Regions from separate parts of the Homo sapiens genome. Here regions 1 and 3 are each linked to region 2. The links are contacts of gene promoters, found by promoter capture Hi-C in human tissues and cell types (Jung and others, 2019). All regions are on one chromosome and are shown on one strand. The core of a region is centred on a gene start or on the middle of the fragment in contact, and the rest is flanking DNA. Distances in the headings are between cores, read along the strand shown.

Region 1 (2,907 bases), core at 131-2,630, 430 kb before region 2:
CCTGCCTCAGCCTCCCAAGTAGCTGGAATTACAGGTGCCGGGCAACAAGCCCAGCTAATTTTTTGTGTTTTTAGTAGAGATGGCGTTTTATCATGTTGGCCAGGCTGGTCTTGAACTACTGACCTCATGATCCACCCGCCTCAGCCTCCCAAAGTGCTGGGATTACAGGCGTGAGCCACCGCACCCGGCCGTTTTTTTGTTTTTGTTTGTTTTTGTTTTTTTGTTTTTTTTGTTTTTTTTTGAGACAGGTTCTTGCTCTGTCACCCAGGCTGGAGTACAGTGGTACAATCACAGCTCACAGCAGTCTTCATCTCCTGGGCTCAGGCAATCCTCCCACCTCAGCCTCCCTAGTAGCTGGGACTGCAGCTGTGCACCACCATGCCTGGCTAATTTTTGTATTTTTTTGTAGAGACAAGGTCTCGCTACGTTACCCAAGCTGGTCTCGAACTGCTGGGCTCAAGCAATCCTCCTGCCACAGCCTCCCAAAGTCCTGGAATTACAGGCGTGAGCCACGGCACCCAGCCTTTTTTCCCCCCTCATATATAATTATTTCTCACAACCAATGTTTCTTCTTAGGGGAAATAGCCCTGAGACTGGGGCTGTACCTTACACAGCTCTGGGTGCTGATACGCACCCCATGTCAAGCGGGAAAGATACCTGGGCACATGCTCCGAGGTGTAGGGTACAAGGACCACCTTCTTCCCCAGCAGCAAGGTGTTCTGATTCAACCTCATGGTAGCAGCCTGCATGCAGATGGGGAGAGCAAAGACTTCAGGACCCTGAATTTCCTCCAACTTTGGGTAGGCGCTCCAGCTTTCCTGCTGGGGCTAAGTTGACTTCCGTCATTAGTTCCGTCTAGACACTTCAAAGAATACAGACTCCAAAATTCTTGCAAGAAAGAGAACCAGGCTGGTTAAGGATAATTAAACAATCCTTGACTCCCACTCCAAGAGGCCAAGCCTGGGCTCCGTTTCTGCCGGTTCCTTCCGTCCACTCCCCAGAACTTCGATTCCTCAAACCCAAGCACCAAGTACCAAGTACCAAAGTATCCCCAGAGCTCCCATTACTTGCCCCAGTCCAGGGATTCCAACCCAGAATCAACTTTCAGCCCTGCCTTAAACCTACTTCCAACCTCTTACCCCGGCGACCACCCCACGGGGCTCTAGCCACTCCCTCCCCGCCCCCGACCACTTCAGGGCAAGGCGGGCTTAGTCTTAGGCCCTCCCCTTTGAGTGGCGTTCTAGACCACTCTCTTCGACCCTCCAACCACGCGGACCCGGGTACTGCCAAGCTCACACCCACCTACCACCGACGAAATCGTCCCCCGCAGAAAGGGTGATCTACCTCCTCCAACCAGCCACGTTCCCAGGCCCGGCCGGCTACCGCCCCTTCCGCATGCGCGTGAGAACGCGCCCCGCCCACTTCCGCCATGCTGACGGCAGCCGCCAGGCCCCAATCCCGGTCCCGCCCCCGCGAGGCGCCCAATCAGCGCGCGCGAAAAAGGTGGGCTGTGGGGCCGGCGCATGCGCGCTGCGGAAGCTGGTGCTGGACAGCTGGCGCCGGCAGCAGCGGACCGGCGGGAGACGGCGGCTTGGGAGCTGGCTGTGCTGCAGGTGTTGGGTCGGGTCGGGTCGGGACGGGCGGGAGAGGACGAGACGGGTCGGGATAGGTTGGGGCGGGGCGGGGCGGCACTAGACTCGGGACTCCTCCAGGAGGGAGAGAGAGGGAGAGGCTGGGAGTGGGGTTCTTGAGAAAAGAGGGAGCTTTGAGGGTGGGGAACCCTAAGAGAGTAGGTGGGGCCAGGGAGTGGAGGCCCCATTAAAAAAAGGAGGCCTTAGTGCCAAGAGTGGAGTTGGAAGGGCAATGTAGGAAAGCCCCCAGCTCCCTGCCCTAGGCAGAGGCGGCAGACAGTTCCTTGGGCTCCCATGTGTGGTAGTGAGCTCCTGGTTCCTGGAACTAAACGAGGATAACCACCCCAGAGCGTGGAAAGGGGGCTCTTGTGGTGGGTGAGACTTAGTGGTTTTAGAGGCCCCTTAAATCACTTGCACCCCGAGCAGCATTGAAAACATCCGTGCTGGGCACAGAGCAGTGCCCTGCACAGCAAGGGAAATGTTAGAAGAAACCGTCCAGATTTCTGTCATCCAGGGTGACCCCTCCCTCGGGGGTGAGTCTTGTGACAGATACTGAGGCCCTAAGTGTCTGTGATAAAAGAACCAGAGGTGGCAGGGGAAGTCTGCAAGCCTCCTCCCACCCCTGTCTCAGTCCATCAGATAGGTGAAGCCTGCTCTTTTGTTTTAAGGAGCTGCGGCAGCCGCCGTCCTTGCACCTAAGGAACCTCTGCTGCCAGCCCTTCCTCACTTTTGGAAATGGCGGGTGAAATTACAGAGACCGGGGAACTCTACTCTTCCTACGTGAGTGTGACTTATAGAACCTTTTGCTCACTTAAGTGTTCCTGGCTTCTAGAAAAGCACATTGCTTGCTGGAGATGGGACTAGTGAGTGCTGCTGCTTGAGCAGACCATAGTGGAAGCAGGATGGGGGAGTTCCATGGGGCAGCGACTACAGTGCTGCTGTGGTGGCTCAGAATGTAAGTCAGATTTATTCTCTTTTTAAGGTGTTTGTCAGAGTGGTCAAGCCAAACAAAATCGCCATGCTGTTTATAATGTTAATCCCGGGCTGGGCACGGTGGCTCACGCCTGTAATCCCAGCACTTTGGGAGGCTGAAGCGGGCAGATCACCTGAGGTCAGGAGTTCAAGACCAGCCTGGCCAACATGGTAAAACCCTGTCTCTACTAAAAATACAAAATTAGCCGGGCATGGTGGCACTGTAATCCCAGCTACTCGGGAGGCTGAGGCAGGAGAATCGCTTGAACCCGGGAGGCGGACGTTGCAGTGAGCTGAGATCGAG
Region 2 (2,718 bases), core at 152-2,651:
CTTTTTCAGTTAATCCTAATGGAAAACGGTTGGAAAAATGAAACAATTATCTTACAACTTATTTTTCTCTTTCCTCTCCTCCCCTCTCTCTAAAAGAGTGTGGCTCCTTCCCCTCTCTTTTCCCCTTCCTCTCTCTAGAGTGGTTAACTCTCAAACTGTATTTAACTCTGGAAAAGTTTTCAATTACACAGGCGATAACTCCAACTTGAGGTATAACGGAAACTTATTAAGAGAAAAAGAGCAAAATAATTTTTTTTTGAGACTCAGCAAAATAATTTTTTTTTTTTTGAGACGGAGTCTCCGTCTGTCGCCCAGGATGGAGTGCAGTGGCGCGATCTTGGCTCACTGCAACCTCCGCCTCCCGGGTTGGAACAATTCTCCTGCCTCAGCCTTACGAGTAGCTGGGATTACAGGTGTCCGCCACCACTCCCGGCTAATTTTTGTATTTTCAGTAGAGACGGGGTTTCGCCATGTTGTCCAGGCTGGTCTTGAACTCCTGACCTCAGGTGATCCAACCACCTCGGCGTCCCGGAGTGCTGGGATTACAGGCGCGCGCTACCAAGCACAGCTAATTTTTTTTTTTTTTTTTGAGACGGAGTCTCGCTCTGTCTCCCAGGCTGGAGTGCAGTGGTGCGATCTTGGCTCAATGCAACCTCCACCTCCCGGGTTGGAACAATTCTCTTGCCTCAGCCTTCCGAGTAGCTGGAATTACAGGTGTCCGCCACCACGCCCGTCTAATTTTTTATATTTTTAGTAGAGACGAGGTTTCATCATATTGGCCAGACTGGTCTTGAACTCCTGAACTCCAGTGATCCACCCACCTTGGGCTGCCAAAGTGTTGGGATTAGAGGCTTGAGCCACAGCGCCGGGCCTTCAGGGGTATCGATTTTGTTCCCGTGCCTCTTGTGTGTGTTCTAGTGTGGAAGTGGAGGCGATTGCTTTCCAGCACAAGCCCGTTTGACTGTCGGGGTTTGGACAAGTGGCTGCGACGACACTAAGGTGGAGACCGGGATGTAGCGAGGACTCCCAGAGTTGGGAGACGTTGTACGCTTACTGGGACCTAAATCCCGCACGAGTTCCCACCCAAGTGCCGCCGCCCCAGCCTACGCACGCGCATTCGCACCGTCTCCAGCCCCGGGGTCCTCCTGCCCCTCCCGCCGTCTCCGGGGGCCTTTTCTCCGCTCGGCACCAGGGTGTCCCCGGCGCCGCCTGATCCTGTTAGCGCGGTACTCTGAGTGCAGTCAGTCCTCGGCGCTGTTTTCCCTGATTTGCTGTCGACGCCAGGAAGGAAGGACGCGTGCAGAGGACCGCAGAGGGGTGGCCGTGGCTGAGAGGAGACAGCGCCGCAGCACTGAGGGTTTGGGCTTGCAGGCGCTGCAGGAGACGCCCAGGCGGAGTCTTGTCTCGCAGCCAGCTCTGAGCGGGAGGCCTGAGCGGGAAGCATTGGCGTCCGAGCGACTTCTAGGAGCCTGGGGTTCGGCGCTATGGAGGAGCTCGATGGCGAGCCAACAGTCACTGTAAGGGTACCCCGAACAGGCTTGCTCGTCCTTGCGGGTTGAGAACTGCGTCTGCTTAGTTACTTCAGGCTTGTCTGCTTCCCTAGTGGTCGCGAGGCGCTCGTCCCCTTCCCTCGACTCAGTTGCCACTTTTCCGGAGGTCGCAGTGTTAACGAGGTGCCCGCCCTAGGGTCGCAGTGGTCGCGGGGTTTCTGCCACCAGTCACAAACCCCGGCCTCGAAGGTCCCACTCCGTCCCTTTCCTTCCTTTGTGTTCCTGGCCTTTTTACTTCCCTTGCTTTTCCTCTTGGGCATTAGAGTGGGTTCAGCCCAAGCAGAGGAATTTATATTTTTATTCCAGCCGTATTAAGCTCTGCATCGCGGCACATTGAGCTTCTGCCTGTGTGGCCTAAGGTTTATTCAACGTATTATCTCAGGAGACTATTCCTGTTTTATCGCTGTGCATTCAATTCCATTTGAACTTTGAAGACAGTATGTCAACTGTGGATGATCTGTGATGTGTATAAAAAAAATTCACGCGCTTTATGTACGAGATACCTACCGTTTCTGCTAGTTGGATTGCTCTTGTTTTCCCTCTTGTTAACCAGAAGTGACTGAGGCAGGTCTCAACCGATAAAGGTTTAATTAGCTAAGGTTGAGGATCCAACCGGGAAAAAGCACAGGTCACAGGAGGATCTGAGACCTGTGCTTTTTCCAAAGATGGTTTTGGGAACATCACTAGTTAAAGAGGAAGGAGCTAGCAGGAGGGGCAAAAAAGGGAGGTTAGGCAGTGAGGAGGCAAATGATTACATTCTTGTGAGTCGGTGATTAGCCTCAGTAAATCTGCATTTTACCTGTGAAAAGAGGGAGCAGAGGAAAATTTTATGTATGCATTCATCTCAGGGTAGGTAGAGGGATTATGGTTATTATTACTGTTATTTTTTAGACGGAGTCTCGCTCTGTCTCCCAGGCTGGAGTGCAGTGGCGCGGTCTCGGCTCACTGTAACCTCCGCCTCCCGGGTTCACACCATTCTCCTGCCTCAGCCTCCTGAGTAGCTGGGACTACAGGTGCCCGCCACCACGCCCGGCTAATTTTTTGTACTTTTTTGTATTTTTAGTAGAGACGGGGTTTCACCGTGTTGGCCAGGATGGTCTCAATCTCCTGACCTCGTGATCCGCCCACCTCGGCCTCCCAAAGTGCTGGGATTACAGGCGTGAGCCAC
Region 3 (2,700 bases), core at 140-2,639, 310 kb before region 2:
AAATCTGGAGGCCCCACTGGTTGTAACTGTGGGCCAAGACAGCGGCATACTCATCCTACAACTCTCTACCCATGGGGTGCAAAGACCCGCTCAAGGGCTTGGAGAAGTCCTCAGACACGCTGTAGTGCATACTGCACCAGTGGACCGGCATACCATCAGCTGCAGCGGCCTGCCCCCGTGGGCACATGCACAGCTGGACACACCCGCATGCTCGAACAGAAGAATGAGGCTGCCACACGGTCCCAGCAGCTGCCTGCATCCTCCTTCTCCCAGGCTCACCTCCACAAAGAAAAGCAGCCAGATCTTGCTCCAGCGTTTGGACTCGGTGAGGGCCCCATGAGTGGCCAGGTGGCTGCCCTTGACAGTGAGTGTGTAGTGGCACACACCCAAGATGGTGATGCCGGATGCAAAGACCAGGGCATTCTCCCAGCGCAGGCACAGGAAGCCTGCGTGGAGAGGAGGAAGAAGACGGGTCTTTCTCTAGCTCTGGGTGATCTGGGCCCAAATACCTCAACCCTTACCCTGGGAGCCCAGGCTAAAGTGGGCTAGGCTCTGGGGGCTGCCACTGGCCGGAGTGAGGCAGGTCCCACTGTGGCCTGAGGGGAACCAGGACTGCCCCTCCAGCGGTCCTGACTCTCCCGTGCCTGGTCCTGACTCTCCAGTGCGTGGTCCTGGGCCCCCAGCCAAAGCAATGTTGGGGCCTCAGGTACCATGGGTGTTCCAGACCAGGAAGGGTCCAGGGGAAACTCCCACCCCCTCCCCACTCACCTAGGTCCCCAAAGAACACCGTCTCCCTTCCCGGGGGTGGGGGGGCACCTCATCACTCCCGGCCACTCCCCCGCTCCTCTCAACTTTCCCTTCCACCACCCTCCTGCGCCCCCTCCTAGGGTACACAGGGCAGAACACCCCAGTCCAGACTCTCAGGTTCGGGGTGTGACCCTCCATCCTTGGGTGCGGGGCCCCGACCACCTCCGCCTCCCTGCCGCCGCCAGTCCACTCCGCAGGCTGCACTCCCACGGCTGCTGTTGCAGACCCCGCGCCGCCACCTCCGCCGCACCCCGCCCCCACCCGCAGCCCGGCCGGGACGCCGGGTCCCCGCGTTCCTCACCTGCCGGCAAGGCGAAGAGGCTGAGCGCGAGGATGGCGCAGTCCACGCCGTGGCGCTCCCACCAGGAGCTCGTCCTCACCACGTCCTGCACCAGCACCTCCAGCTCCCGCAGCAGCGCCTCGCCCCCACGGTGCGCGCTCCGCGCCGGTTCCATGGGCTCCGTAGGTTCCATGGGCTCCGTAGGTTCCATGGGCTCCGTAGGTTCCATGGGCTCCGTAGGTTCCATCGGCTCCGTGGGTTCCATGGACTCTGTGGGCTCGGGCCCGACGCGCACGGAGGACTGGAGGACTGGGGCGTGTGTCTGCGGTGCAGGCGAGGCGGGGCGGGCCGGGGCGGAGTCACGCGCCGCCTGGGGACACCCGCCCCCGGGGTCAAGGTGCGAGACACCCTGGCTCCTCTGCTGCGGGCGCTGGCGACCCAGGCCCGGCTCAGGCGCGCGACCCTGGCAGGCGGCATCAGAACCGCCGCGGAGGGAGGAGCCAGGCCGATGAGCTGAGAGTGGCTAGGCGGGGAGGCGACCCTGCGGTGAGACCCAGCCCAGGTAGTAGGGACGGAGGCGTCAGGGGCACGGAGACCCCAGTGGAGACACCCCCCACCCCCGCCCCGCCCCGAGGGCCTTCCCTGACCTCCGACCTCAAATAACTCCCTGAGTTCCCTCGGTCCCTGAGATCTGTCCGAGCATTCTCTTCCCTCGACCCTGACTATTCGTAGTGGCACTGAGCAGCTCCCCTCGTACGTGACACACATGACACATGCTGTCGTCTGTCTCTGCCAACAGACGGACCCTCAGTGCCGTAGAGACGTCCTCGTTTTGCCCAAGCTCTGTCTTCAGTACCTAGGGCAATGCTTGGCACAGAAACATCTGGGAATTCCTAGGGCAGAAAGTTCAAGGACTCCCCACTCCCCCTCCCCGTGGGTCAAGGAGTGAGAGGTCCCCTCTGAGTATGGCTTCAGCAGAGGTGACCCAGGGGAGCTGGCTCTTCAGCCCAATAATGTTTTGGGTGAGACGGGTAGCTACAGGGAATACACATCCGGAGGTCATCATTCTGGGTGGGCAGGCAGACCAGCCGGGTCCCGCTGCCATTCCACTCCCTCAAGAGCGCCCAGGCCTGAACCCAGGGCCAGGGCCTCAGCCAAGCCCTCTGAGATGTGGGAGCCACACCTGTCACATCCCCTTCCCATCAGCCCAGGCCCCCACCCCGCACTGCTGGAGATGGCCTTGGTCCTCAGGGGATAAGCCTCTGTCCTCTACAAACTCCTCTTCCCTGCTTCTGAATACCCTTTCTCTTTTCTTTTTTGTTTTACTTACTCCCAGTTTCATGACTTAAGGGATCTGGTATGGTGAGGACAGTGGCATCTTTAGCAGGAGACCCCTAGGAAAGAGAAGTTGGGTGGGTGGGGTAAGGGAGAGACAGTCAGGGATCCTAATGACATTGATTCCTTTTGACTCCTTCCTGGTGTTTTCCTTCAGGAATTCTTTTTTTTCTCTCTTTGTTTAGAAACAGGGTCTCGCTCTATCACTCAGGCTGGAGTGCAGTGGCACAATCACAGCTCACTGCAGCCTCGATTTCCTAGGCTCAAGTGATCCTCCC

The links. Contacts are between HindIII fragments. The study calls those that stand out against the background at their distance.
Region 1: the fragment with the promoter of NAT9 here is called in contact with the fragment with the promoter of NUP85 in region 2 in 1 of the 25 tissues and cell types used here (lymphoblastoid cells).
Region 3: the fragment with the promoter of FADS6 here is called in contact with the fragment with the promoter of NUP85 in region 2 in 1 of the 25 tissues and cell types used here (hippocampus).

Annotation. Positions count from the first base shown.
Region 1 is chr17:74,774,965-74,777,871 of GRCh38, forward strand. NAT9 (N-acetyltransferase 9) reads right to left here and starts at 1,381. Exons shown (of 7, transcript NM_015654.5): 1 at 1,303-1,381; 2 at 658-743. The coding sequence starts at 734. It overlaps SLC38A12 (solute carrier family 38 member 12), which reads left to right and starts at 1,535. Exons shown (of 10, transcript NM_017728.4): 1 at 1,535-1,613; 2 at 2,300-2,411. The coding sequence starts at 2,367. RefSeq lists an enhancer at 1,063-1,182. The HindIII fragment of the contact is 11,963 bases long and covers 1-2,907 here.
Region 2 is chr17:75,204,278-75,206,995 of GRCh38, forward strand. NUP85 (nucleoporin 85) reads left to right here and starts at 1,402. Exons shown (of 19, transcript NM_024844.5): 1 at 1,402-1,517. The coding sequence starts at 1,485. RefSeq lists enhancers at 207-1,141, 1,142-2,075, 1,234-1,413. The HindIII fragment of the contact is 15,269 bases long and covers 1-2,718 here.
Region 3 is chr17:74,892,244-74,894,943 of GRCh38, forward strand. It overlaps FADS6 (fatty acid desaturase 6), which reads right to left and starts at 1,390. Exons shown (of 6, transcript NM_178128.6): 1 at 1,109-1,390; 2 at 280-446. The coding sequence starts at 1,352. The HindIII fragment of the contact is 12,637 bases long and covers 1-2,700 here.